Regions from separate parts of the Homo sapiens genome. Here all the other regions are linked to region 2. Evidence: promoter capture Hi-C in 16 types of primary human blood cells and fetal thymus (Javierre and others, 2016). All regions are on one chromosome and are shown on one strand. The core of a region is centred on a gene start or on the middle of the fragment in contact, and the rest is flanking DNA. Distances in the headings are between cores, read along the strand shown.

Region 1 (3,826 bases), core at 36-2,535, 400 kb before region 2:
CTCTTGAGCAAGTCATCATGCAGTCAGTCTGTGGACTCACGTGTAGACACCACCTGTTGTCTATAGGGTGGCAGCTCCATTAAAATAACATTCACATCTATAGGGGAACATGGGGGAGATGCCTAAGTGGTCTGTTATGGAATTGCCCTAAAATCCCTCCAAAGACATTGAGATGCTAACTAGAAAAAATTGCTTCTTTTTTCCCCCTCTTCATTTCTGTCAAATTTAATTTTCTTGTTTTCTTTTCCTGAAACTCTAGTAGCTGTCAAGAATGTATTGCTGGAAGCCAAATCTGTCATTTTGTCTTCGGCAGTTGAAGAACTTTCATTTTTCTTTCTAGGAGTAATGCATTTCTACTTAGAGAACAGCTAAGTGAAAATGTACTCCTGAAACAAGATTTTTTCTGCAGGCTTCCTTGAATTTGTCAAAAAGACAAAAATCTTACCAGCTTCACTTTGTAATAATGCCCCAAAGTTACTTGGAATCATCTTCCACCTACTTTTCTTGTCTCTATTATTTAATATGTGTAGTAGGGAAGAAGAAAATGAACACATTTACAATTTAAGGTTCTGCTTATACATGTATTGTCAAAGCTAATTGTTTTAAACAAGGTGTTTTATCTTTGATTAAAGTGATCAATGCCTATAAGTATAAAAGAAATGATAGTAGAGTTTCATGGTCTCTTTCATAACACAGTCCCATACTTAACACTTTGATGTGCTGACACTGATAATGAAGATACAAGGCCTGACTTAAGCAATAGTTAGCCTTCAAAATAGAAAGGTGAATGGTACATTCATTTCTGAAATTCCTGAGGTTTTTCCTTGCTCTACTCAGTTAGACAGAGAAGCATTAAAAAAAAAAAAAATCCCCATTGCAGAGAAGGAAACTGAGACCACCAGTCAATCAAAGGGAGGATTTTTACTTTCCCAAAACAACTGGGTATCAGCAATGTCAAATATTCAACATAACTTGTAAGCCCTCCTAGCACTACCTTCAAAGCACATAAGGCATCTCTTCAGGTCAGCCATTTGCTCCTGACACAGACCTGATGTCTACTGCTTGTGTAATTGATGTTAACAATGGATACTGAGAATTCCCCAAGAGAATTTTACTGTTTTCATTAAGTTGGTCAAGTAGAAAAGGTGAATACTATTGTCATCCCTGCCCTAACAATGTGATTAACATTTTATCTCTCTGAGTTCCTCTCCCCTCCTTACCCTTTATCCCTATCAGGGGCAGACTCATATCATGATAATGTCATTGCTACACAGCTCAAGTTCACTGTCACCCAAGAGGGTCTCCTGGAGCTTACACATGACAGGCAATGGTATTAGAGGTGAAATATACAGAAGCAATGGCATTAGAAATATACAGAATGTATAAATAAATATGCAGAAGCATTGGCATTAGAGATGAAATGTAAACTTTCCATAAACATTGTGAATGCCCGATTCAAGGAAAGTATGTTCTGTCCGAATCGGAAACACCTTTTAGCTACAGTGGTTCTGAGGAAGGTACCTCTGCGAGGATGTTAAAAAAATATGTAAAGGTGTATTTTTCATTGTCACAGCAACAAGGATGAAAAGGTGGAAAATGGGAAAGGGTGATGGGGATGGTAGAGGGGTGGGGACCTACCAGCATCTGGTGTCCAGGACTCAGGGATGTCAAATGCCTGCAATTCTCAGGGCATTCCCACCTTATGAATTGTCTCACCAAAAATGTCAGTAACACCTGTACTGGGAAAGAATGGAAGGGGAAGTGCGCAGCACTCAAATAGTTGCTAACAATGGTCATTTGAAATTCACCATTTTACATACATATATATATACAATTTAAATTTATATATATATATACTTAAATTTATTTTTTTACTCTGTGCCAGGCACTGGGGTACAATGGTTTTTTAAAAAACCCACTTTTTGCCCTAAAGAAGCATATAGTTGGTGGGAGACAGACCACATTCTGCCATGATATCAGTAACCTGGGAGGCCAAGGGGAACAAAGAGGGGTCTGGAAAGGCTTCCTGAAACACCTGCTGCCTCCACTGAAGTAGGAGTTGGAGTCAACAAGGAGGTGGGCCGAGTGGTTTGGGGTGCGAGGGGACAGTTGGGGTAGGGAGGTGATGTTTCCAGATGAGGACCAGCATGTGTAACTAAGGCCTGGAGTTATGAGAGCACAGTGCCATGGGGGGCAAGTTTGTTCTGTGGCTATTTCCTTCCAACAGAGGCGAGGACTGCAAATCAGGATGGAGAGGGAAGCAGGGGTTCAGTAATCAGAGACCCTGACACTCCGTGCAGGAATTTATACTTTATCCTGGAGCCATGAGAAGCCACTGCAGAGTTTAAATTAAGGGAATGACAAGAACCCATGTCAGGGATGGCACATTGAATTGAGAGCTCTCTTAGTGTCAGTATTATTGTCCCTTGCCTTTAGACACTGGGCAGGAAATCTGCTGAGAGTCACCTGAGAGTCATTGAGGCCTTTCTATTGACCTCTCCTTGAAGCTGCGCTACTGTGCAGCCACAAAGGCAGGACTGGCCTCACCAGCGTAGCCAGATCACTATCACTGTCATCAACCATCTGGCAAGGAAGTGCCTTCTACCAGCAGAGACTGCTCTGCCTTCGAGATCACAGGCTCATTGGGAGGCTGGAACTACATAACTCCAGCATCCCCTCCAGGAGAAGGATGGTTAAGGCCAAAGACTACAGAATCCAACTATCCAAGTTGGAATTCCAATTTCACCATTTGTTGACTTCGTGACCTCGGGCGGATCATTTAACCTCAGTTTTTTTCATCTGTAGAATGAAGATAATGATAATAATGATCTCATAGGTTTTTGTAAAGATTAGATGAGATAATATATATAAGAACCCAGCACTTAATAATCACTCAATAAGCATTAGCTATTATTACAACAGAAGGCAAAGAGTCAAATTCAGCTCAAAAGTTAAGAGTGTGCCTTCTGGAGCTACAGTGTTGGGTTTAAAAATTTAGTCCCAAGACTTGTGGCCTTGGGCAACCTGCTTAAACTCACCCCACCTCATTTTCTTCATCAGTGAAACAGAGGGAAGATGATAGTCTTGACTTCAGAGGGCTGACATAGCTCGATTTTAACAGTGTACATCTCAGAACAACACCTGGCTCATAGTAGGCACTCCATAAATATTAGCTATTATTTCAATGGAGTAAGCCAGACAAAAAATGATAGAAAGGAAGTGGGACTCAAGACTTTGAAGGAATAGAGCGTGCCTTAAATAAAATGACAGAAGGAAGAAGGGAATCAACATTTGGATGCTTAATAGGTATGTGGAACTTAACATCAAAGAAGTTGTTTTGAGAGTTAAATAAGATACCCCAATGCCCAATGTAGATTGTTTTCTTATCCCAATTTTGCAGCTGAGTCTTACAGAGTTTAGATAGTTTACCTGGGATCACGTGTTAGGCTGTGGACCCTGGCTGCATCCGACTCTAAATCCTTGATCTTTCTCTCCAGCTTGCTGAGTCCAGCTGCATGGAGAAGGTAGGTGGTCCAGGAGAGGAGGGGGACGAGGAATCAATTCTGCTGGAGTCGTCGGGGTTGGTGCCTGGTTCCCAGGTGCATACTTTTAAGTTCAAGATGCTGGGGTGCTGGCCTCTCAGTGACCACCAGATGTCAGTGCTAACAAGAGATTCCTCTACTTGGTTGTTTCCAGAGCTAGGTGCCAGGGCACGCTTATTCATTTGGCAAGCAGCACCAGCAGGTACTGTCTAAGAGAAGCTTAACTTGGTCTTGGTGCCCATCTTCACATTCATCAGTGTGGGGTGATTTTGGAAGGCTAGGTC
Region 2 (3,603 bases), core at 61-2,560:
ATTGTCTATGAGTTGATAATATTGAAGCCAAGTGATGAGTATGCAGGGCTTATTGTGCTATTCTCTCCTATTCATGTATTTTTAAATTTTTTCATCATAAAACATTTTAAATGTATTTCTCAAAAGGGCTGGCTTACAGTTTTGTAGGTTATTTAACTTACCTGTATAATAATATGCTTATTAGTGAGGTACATAACTTGATAGAATAACAATAACTTTACATATTCAGGAAAAATCACCTTGTCTCTCCACCATGGCTTTTGTGGAAGATGAGATGAATAGCAGACATTTAAAGTAGAAACTATGACTCTCCAATAACAAGACTCTCTTTCAAAGTAGCACAACACTTCTGTCATCTGTTACACTGTGATTAGCCTAAAACTGCAGTAGATAGACTACTGAAACAATTAAAGCATTCAAGAATTATAAAAGATCAATCACCTACTTCATAAAAATTTTCATAAACCAGACTATACTTGGGGAATTGTTAATTGCCTCAAAGTAAAATGAGGGCAGCCACCCAGATCTGGTTAGGAGGTAAATTCATTACAGTGTCAAGTTTAACACCAATTTCCAAATGCACATAAGAAGCTGCAGAGTCCAGACTTCGAGGCTAAACAGCTCTGCCTTTCTCCTTAGTCCTGCCCACTACCTTCTTTCTGAATCTGCGAAGAGCTGTGACTCTTGAAGGGCAGGACCTACCAGCATTCATTATGACTTCAGTTATGGCAAGCTCTCAAGTTAAATTAATGGTGTTTGGGGTTTATGTTTCCAAACAGTAAGGAAATAGCCAACGAGTAAAACTGGAAATTACTTTCTCCTATGACCTAGAAGTAGCAATAAGAACTCTAAGTGGGAAACAGAAATAGGACTCTGGAAAGATAATGTTTTGTGTGTTTATTTTTCTTCCAGAACTCCAAATAGTTGCCTTGGCAGGAAGGCTGCCCTCTAACTGCTCCCTTCCGAAGACTAGGAGGTGTTTACAGAAATTGAAAGTTCCAGCAGTACATTTCCATGAGCTCATTACCAGTTCCATTTATACCTTTTAGATTTCACATGCACAAATGAATGTCCTTGCAGTATAAACTCCTGCTTTCAGCTTGCATTTTAATTACAAACAAAGTAGCAGAAATCAGGTACTCAGTTACTGTAACATAAGGGCAGGGCATCTTTAGAATCTGTGCTTTGTTCACTATTATTCAAAGCAGCTCCAATGCCCGTCTTGCCTGCCTCTTTATGCTAATCATCCTAGCCCACTTTGCTCCTCCTCCTTCCAGAGTCCCTTAAGAACTGTACACTTTCAGCTGTCACAGAGGGTAACTCAGATCAGGCTTAGAAATCACTTGACTTAACTCAGCAGCACTTTTTCTTTTCTTTGTGTCTGTATTATTTTAGCAGCCTTCTCTAAATACTGGAGGCATTGGATTTCATGTCGCCAAAAGGAATTTAAAAATGACAAAAGTGTAATCTGTTAGAAATAGTTAATTTGTAGAATTTTACTCTATAAGGAGGTTTAGTTTCAATTTGTTTTGAAATGAAGGAATTAAGTTGTGTTTTTAACCAAATGAATTGGCATCTTTATATTTAGGAGAAGTAACATTGGTGATTATTTATTTCAAGAATCATGACTGGAAAAAGCTTGGAAGTTTAGTAGAGGAGTATATGTTGTACATGCAAAGACAAGATCTGCATGAATCTATGTATTTCTGGGTGTCTGGTGAAGGCCACTTTAGGTGACTGGCCAGAGAAGGAGGTGCCCTAGTGATCCTTGAGTCACAGCCATACTGCTAGGACCATGACTACCATACCAAGAAAAGGCAGCAGCCACCTGCCTGGCAGTTTGCACACCTGTAAACTGAAGCTGCAGGAGGACCGGCGACAGCAAGGTGAGTCCGTCCAGCTCATGAGTTGCATATTCTGTGACCTTCTGTGCATTTGCATTCCAGGAAGAATGGTGGGCTGGTGAAGGACCCGGGGAAGCTCTGACATAATAGTGATGCATAAGGGTGGGTTAACTTGGATTCACTATTGATTTTTAGAGGACTATGGAAGACTGTCAAGAATGCATATTCCTTGGAGCTGTCATTCTGAAACTTACATGCTTAAACTTCTAGCCACTGTGTTTTTTAGAGTATGCTAGATTTTGTCTAATTCAAAACACCCATCTGAGCAAGGCTGAGTCAGCTACAAGGGGGATTTCAGCTGAGAGTAGCTTTAAGTTAGCCTGGAGCTTTCTCTACCATAGTACCACTGGTGGGACACTTTTTTCACTTTGTTTAAGCCTAAGTTTGTCTGGATCTCTGGCTCATTCATTGTGGGAAAAATAAATATATTCTTGACTCTTTCCTTTTTATGGTCCAGGGACATCTGGAGACAGTCAGGGAAAAGTGTCACATTTCACTTGCTGGGCACTCATTCAAACTAAACTATCTACCTCCCAGCCATTTTCACCATCAGTCTTTTTAAATTTTCAAATCCACTCTCCAGCCAGCTGAGTTAGTGTCAGATGGTTGACATGAATAGACAAGATGATCCCTCCAATCCACCCTGTCAGGGACAGCAAATGACACTTGTGGGAAAGGCTGGGTCTCTCATGGATGACATCATCACTCCACAGAGGTTAAGGATTCACCAGACACTTCTAACTTCTCCTCAATAACCTAGGATAGATCTTTTTATGTGTAGGTCTAGGCAATGAGCTCTTTAATTATTTTTCTGTAGACGCAGTTTTAGATTTCAGTGGTGTGGAGAGTGTTGGCTAAAGGGCCAAAACCTCCCATTTCCAAGATGGAATCTGTGTGCTAACAGTCACATGAATGTGTCAGGCCACCTCTCTGCATCGGTTCCTGGAGCTGTATAACATGACTTCATGCTCTACAAGGCTTAGCATAGTGTCGGCAGAAAATACTTCATGGTAAATGAAAACAATGTGAACTTTTAGACCATGCTTTACTACTAGTGCTCAAATAAATTTTGAACCAAGTACCCTAGAATGTAAAGTCCTGGAATGTGTCAGGGTTAAGGCATAGCACTGTAAAATGCTCTTGCTTCTCTGTTAGTAAACAATTCTAGTTTATCAGAGGTTTTTGTTTTCTGTTGACTTTGTATGAAATGTTAAAGTGACTTCCCCCCACTTCAATTGCTAATATGATAATTTTAATAGAAAATTTGGTGGGGGTGAGCCTAAAGAAGTCACCTGTAACCCCACCACCCAAAGATAATTGCTATTAACATTTTAATGTATAAACTTCTAGACTTTTCTTCTATGCACTTGTATGGATTATTCCTTTGCTTGCTTTTTAAACAATATAGACTTGTTCTGGATACTTTTGTAAACAGTGTTTTGTAAACTGCTTTTTAATTTAATGACAGAGGATGAACAAATTTCCAGGTCATTAAATATTCTTCTACAACCTTATTTTTAACAGTTGCACACTGTTCCTTTATATGGATGTAGCAAAATTCCCTTAGGCAATTCTCTACTGTTAGATATATTATTTATTTCTAATATTTTAACTATTATAATTAACACTGGACTGCACCTAAACTAATGAATAGATCTTTGCACTGATATGGGATTATTTTCTTCGCATAAATTCTTAG
Region 3 (3,586 bases), core at 1,068-3,567, 410 kb before region 2:
ATCATTCTACTTACCTAATTAGGTTTACATAATCATTAATAAAATACAAATACATATGGCACAGTACTGGCCCATCATAGGGACTTAGGAAATAGAAAATGCTCCTTTCTGCTCCTTGTCCTCATATCCTGAGCCTTCCTAAAATATAATCTCATTTCTGGTTAAACCTCTAAGTCAAGCATATAGTACATTTTGGTTTACACGTTCCTAGAGGGCAAACTGCTTGGGGAGAAGCCCTGTGTCAGAGTTCACTGCAAACTGAGAAAATATTCGAGTTCTCAAAAACAGAACTCATCATCTTCCCAGGGGCTTGTCATAGCCCCTGAAGTCCTTCCAGGAAGCAGAGCCTGACACAAGGGTTTGTGTGCAAGTAGCTTATTTTCAGAAGTGATTTCAGGGAACTGGAGTAGGGGACTGGGAAGGGGGAAAGAAAGAAAGAAGGCAAATCAGTACCTACAAAGTTGTATGATCAAATTTGGTGGCAGTTGTGGGAAACTGGAGCCTGATCCTCCTGGGACTCTCTGACAGCCATGAAGAATGAATCTCATGATTGCCTACTCAAGGGACACGATGGGGACAGGCATCCACAAGCTCCCATCCTTGGCTGGTCAAGGATCAACTCCAGGTGTTAACTCCCTCACACTGCCAGATTCGCACAAGTGCTGGGTGATTCTCATAGATGTCCCAGGCCAGGCGTCTGAGAAGCCCCTGTCAATCATGCAGCAGAAGTGAGGTGTACTCAGGAAAACTGGAGTAAAATGTGAGGTCCAGAGAACATGAAATGGACATAAGCGACATCCAGCACAGGGCTCTGTCAGCAGAAAAGTGAGCAAGTCTGCTTCTCCTTTCAAACCTTTTACAAAAGTAGCCACTGGAATATTCTTCAATTGCTTCCATGTGGCTTTGGGAAGCCTCACTGTTCTCTTGGTTTTCTGAACTCTAATTGCATGTACAGGCTCAGTAACTTGGCACTTCGTGACATATCTCTTCCTTGTCCTTCAATGTGTTTCTGTGTTTTAATTGTGTCCCGCTTCCCCATGAAAGACATCAGTTTCTTTGGGTAGCTGGGGATGGAGTCTTTAAATTCCGTTTTATCCTATCAACCCCTAACAGTGCTCTGCAAAAACCTGTTGACTTGCGCTCACTTGGTAGATGATAAATCCTTTCTCTCTATGCACAATTATCTTTTCAAAGGCCTGTGGAGTCTTCCTACTCCCTAACTATATTGAGACCCTCCCAATTAATGGGGCTTGGAAAGCAGTATTTTTAATGAGAGGCAGGGAGCAGGGAGCACAATGCCAGTGCCTCAGGGTGTTGTAAGATTTTCAGCAGCGATTCATTCTGCACTCTTTGTATTTGGTTTCATTCCGATTGCTTCACAGCCAGTAGCACTCAGAAGGGACATATATTTAGACTAAACTCTAAGCCTCTTATTGAAACTTTCTGTATATAATGAAATACAAATGTGCTGGTCCTTTCTCTGCCTAACCTTTTCCCTTTCTACTGAAGTCCTTGCCAGCTGTAGATACTGTATGGTTATGAGTGGTGACTAGGGCCTGCAATGGGTCAGCAGGGGACTAGTATTCACCAAATTCTTTTATTATTTATTTATTTATTTTATTTTTTTGAGACAAGGTCTCACTCTGTCGTCCAGGCTGGAATGCAATGACATGATCTTGGCTCACTGCAACCTCCGCCTCCAGGATTCAAGCGATTCTTGTGCCTCAGCCTCCCAAGCAGCTGGGACTACAGGCGCCTGCCACCACGCCCAGCTAAATTTTTGTATTTTTAGTAGAGACGAGGTTTCACCGTGTTGGCTAGGCTGGTCTCGAATTCCTGACCTCAAGTGATCTGCCTGCCTTGGCCTCTCAAAGTGCTGGGATTACAGGCATGAGCCACCATGCCTGACCCCGAATTCTTTTAGATGACAAGGTATCCAGGTTACCTTCACTCTTTCTTACTGTGAGACTGGAGCCACTTATATGAGTTACTCCTGGCTGCCACATTCAGTGGGGCAGCTTGTGTACTGCACGACTCCCAGGAGGCATTCACATCACAGTCAGTATGAATGTGCTTCCTGGAGGAACGCAGTGAGTAAGTTGTGTAGCCACAAATAGTGACCCTATCTGAGGCCCCATCCCAGTTCTCCTGAATCAGAATCTCTAGTGGGAGCACCCAGGAATCTACATCTTCACAAATCTCACAGGTTCCTATTAACACTAAAGTTTGAAAATCACTGCTTAGGGATAGGTTTTGAGAAAAAGATACATCAGAAGGAAAGAAATGTGGGAAATTATCTCAGCATCTATGCTGTCCCTGGATCCTTTGCTTTCCAGGCTTAAATGTACACAGTGGGTTTCATGGATAACTCAGTGAATCATTGCCGTTCAGAGTATGATGGCCCTGCTAGTGATCTGGTCATCTTTTCATCTCTTTCCAAGCAGGCCTCTCTTGTTTTATTTTCTGAGAGCTTTTATATTCAAAAATTTTAAGAGAGAAGTTCTATCAGGGCACTCCATATTGAATGGTGGCCCCCATTGGGTAGCATCTGAAGCAGAGTTTTCTCCTTGGCAACTGGCCTTACTGATTTTCTGTTTACTTGTATGTGGCTCCCTTTGGCTTGGGTCCTCACCTTTAATTCAGTGAACATTAGCTATGGCATCTTAAGAAAGGTCTACCTGTGATCGCTTTTCTCTGAAGGGAGCTATGGGCATGGTCAGCACACACCATCGCAGACACCATGTCCCATAATAATAAGAGCTAGTATGTGTTGCACCAGGCATTTTTTCTAGTACCTCAAAAACAACTCTTTGTAATAGATGTTTTGTTATCCTCATTTTAGAGATTAAAAAATTGAGGCATGGCCGGGCGCGGTGGCTCATGCCTGTAATCCCAGCACTTTGCGAGGCTGAGATGGGCAGATCATGAGGTCAGGAGATCGAGACCATCCTGGCTAACATGGTGAAACCCCATCTCTACTAAAAATACAAAAAAATTAGCTGGGCGTGGTGGCGGGTGCCTGTAGTCCCAGCTACTCAGGAGGCTGAGGCAGGAGAATGGCGTGAACCTGGGAGGTGGAGGTTGCAGTGAGCTGAGATAGCGCCATTGCACTCCAGCCTGGGCGACAGAGCGAGACTCCGTCTCAAAAAAAAAAAAAAAAAAAAAAATTGAGGCATAGAGCTTGACCAATAGTTCAGAAATGGTCCCACAACTGGAACCCATATAAGCTCCAAGCTGCTGTTATTTATGACCACTGGGGTCATGGCAAAAGATCAGTGTGTGGGGTGTGTGCGTGGGGGTGGGGGCAAAAGATTGTGTGCGTATGCATGCATGTGTGTGCATGTGTGTATGTGTGCTGGGGTAGGACAGGGATAAGAGGGAGAGTGCAAGGCACAACTTAGGTCAGAAAGGCAAGAACATGCGGAAGCCTTCATTGGTGCATGTTGGGGGAAGGAGTTGGGAGACAATGACGGGTGCCACAAAGCCTCAAGACAGAGCTGAGATTGCCTTGAGGGCCAGACAGGATTCTAGCAAGAGATTCTGGGGAGTTGTTCTTACTCCTTTGCTGACTTCTTATAAAGGATTA

The links. The method cuts DNA at HindIII sites, captures the fragments that hold promoters and counts their contacts. A CHiCAGO score of 5 or more calls a contact.
Region 1: a fragment that was not itself captured here is called in contact with the fragment with the promoter of RANBP3L in region 2 in 5 of 17 cell types (M1 macrophages, M0 macrophages, megakaryocytes and 2 more); the score reaches 9.2 in M1 macrophages.
Region 3: a contact is called between a fragment that was not itself captured here and the fragment with the promoter of RANBP3L in region 2, in 3 of 17 cell types (M1 macrophages, monocytes and M0 macrophages). The highest score is 6.1, in M1 macrophages.

The regions. Positions count from the first base shown.
Region 1 is chr5:36,696,089-36,699,914 of GRCh38, reverse strand. The region is part of intron 1 of SLC1A3-AS1 (SLC1A3 antisense RNA 1); the gene reads left to right. Among named protein-coding and RNA genes, the nearest start is that of SLC1A3-AS1, 27 kb to the left of the region's middle. RefSeq lists a silencer at 3,494-3,788. The HindIII fragment of the contact is 4,957 bases long and covers 1-3,763 here.
Region 2 is chr5:36,299,609-36,303,211 of GRCh38, reverse strand. It overlaps RANBP3L (RAN binding protein 3 like), which reads left to right and starts at 1,310. Exons shown (of 14, transcript NM_145000.5): 1 at 1,310-1,886. The coding sequence starts at 1,796. The region is part of intron 1 of LOC124900962 (a long non-coding RNA gene); the gene reads right to left. The HindIII fragment of the contact is 7,999 bases long and covers 1-1,640 here.
Region 3 is chr5:36,715,142-36,718,727 of GRCh38, reverse strand. The region is part of intron 1 of SLC1A3-AS1 (SLC1A3 antisense RNA 1); the gene reads left to right. Among named protein-coding and RNA genes, the nearest start is that of SLC1A3-AS1, 8.3 kb to the left of the region's middle. The HindIII fragment of the contact is 7,263 bases long and covers 1-3,586 here.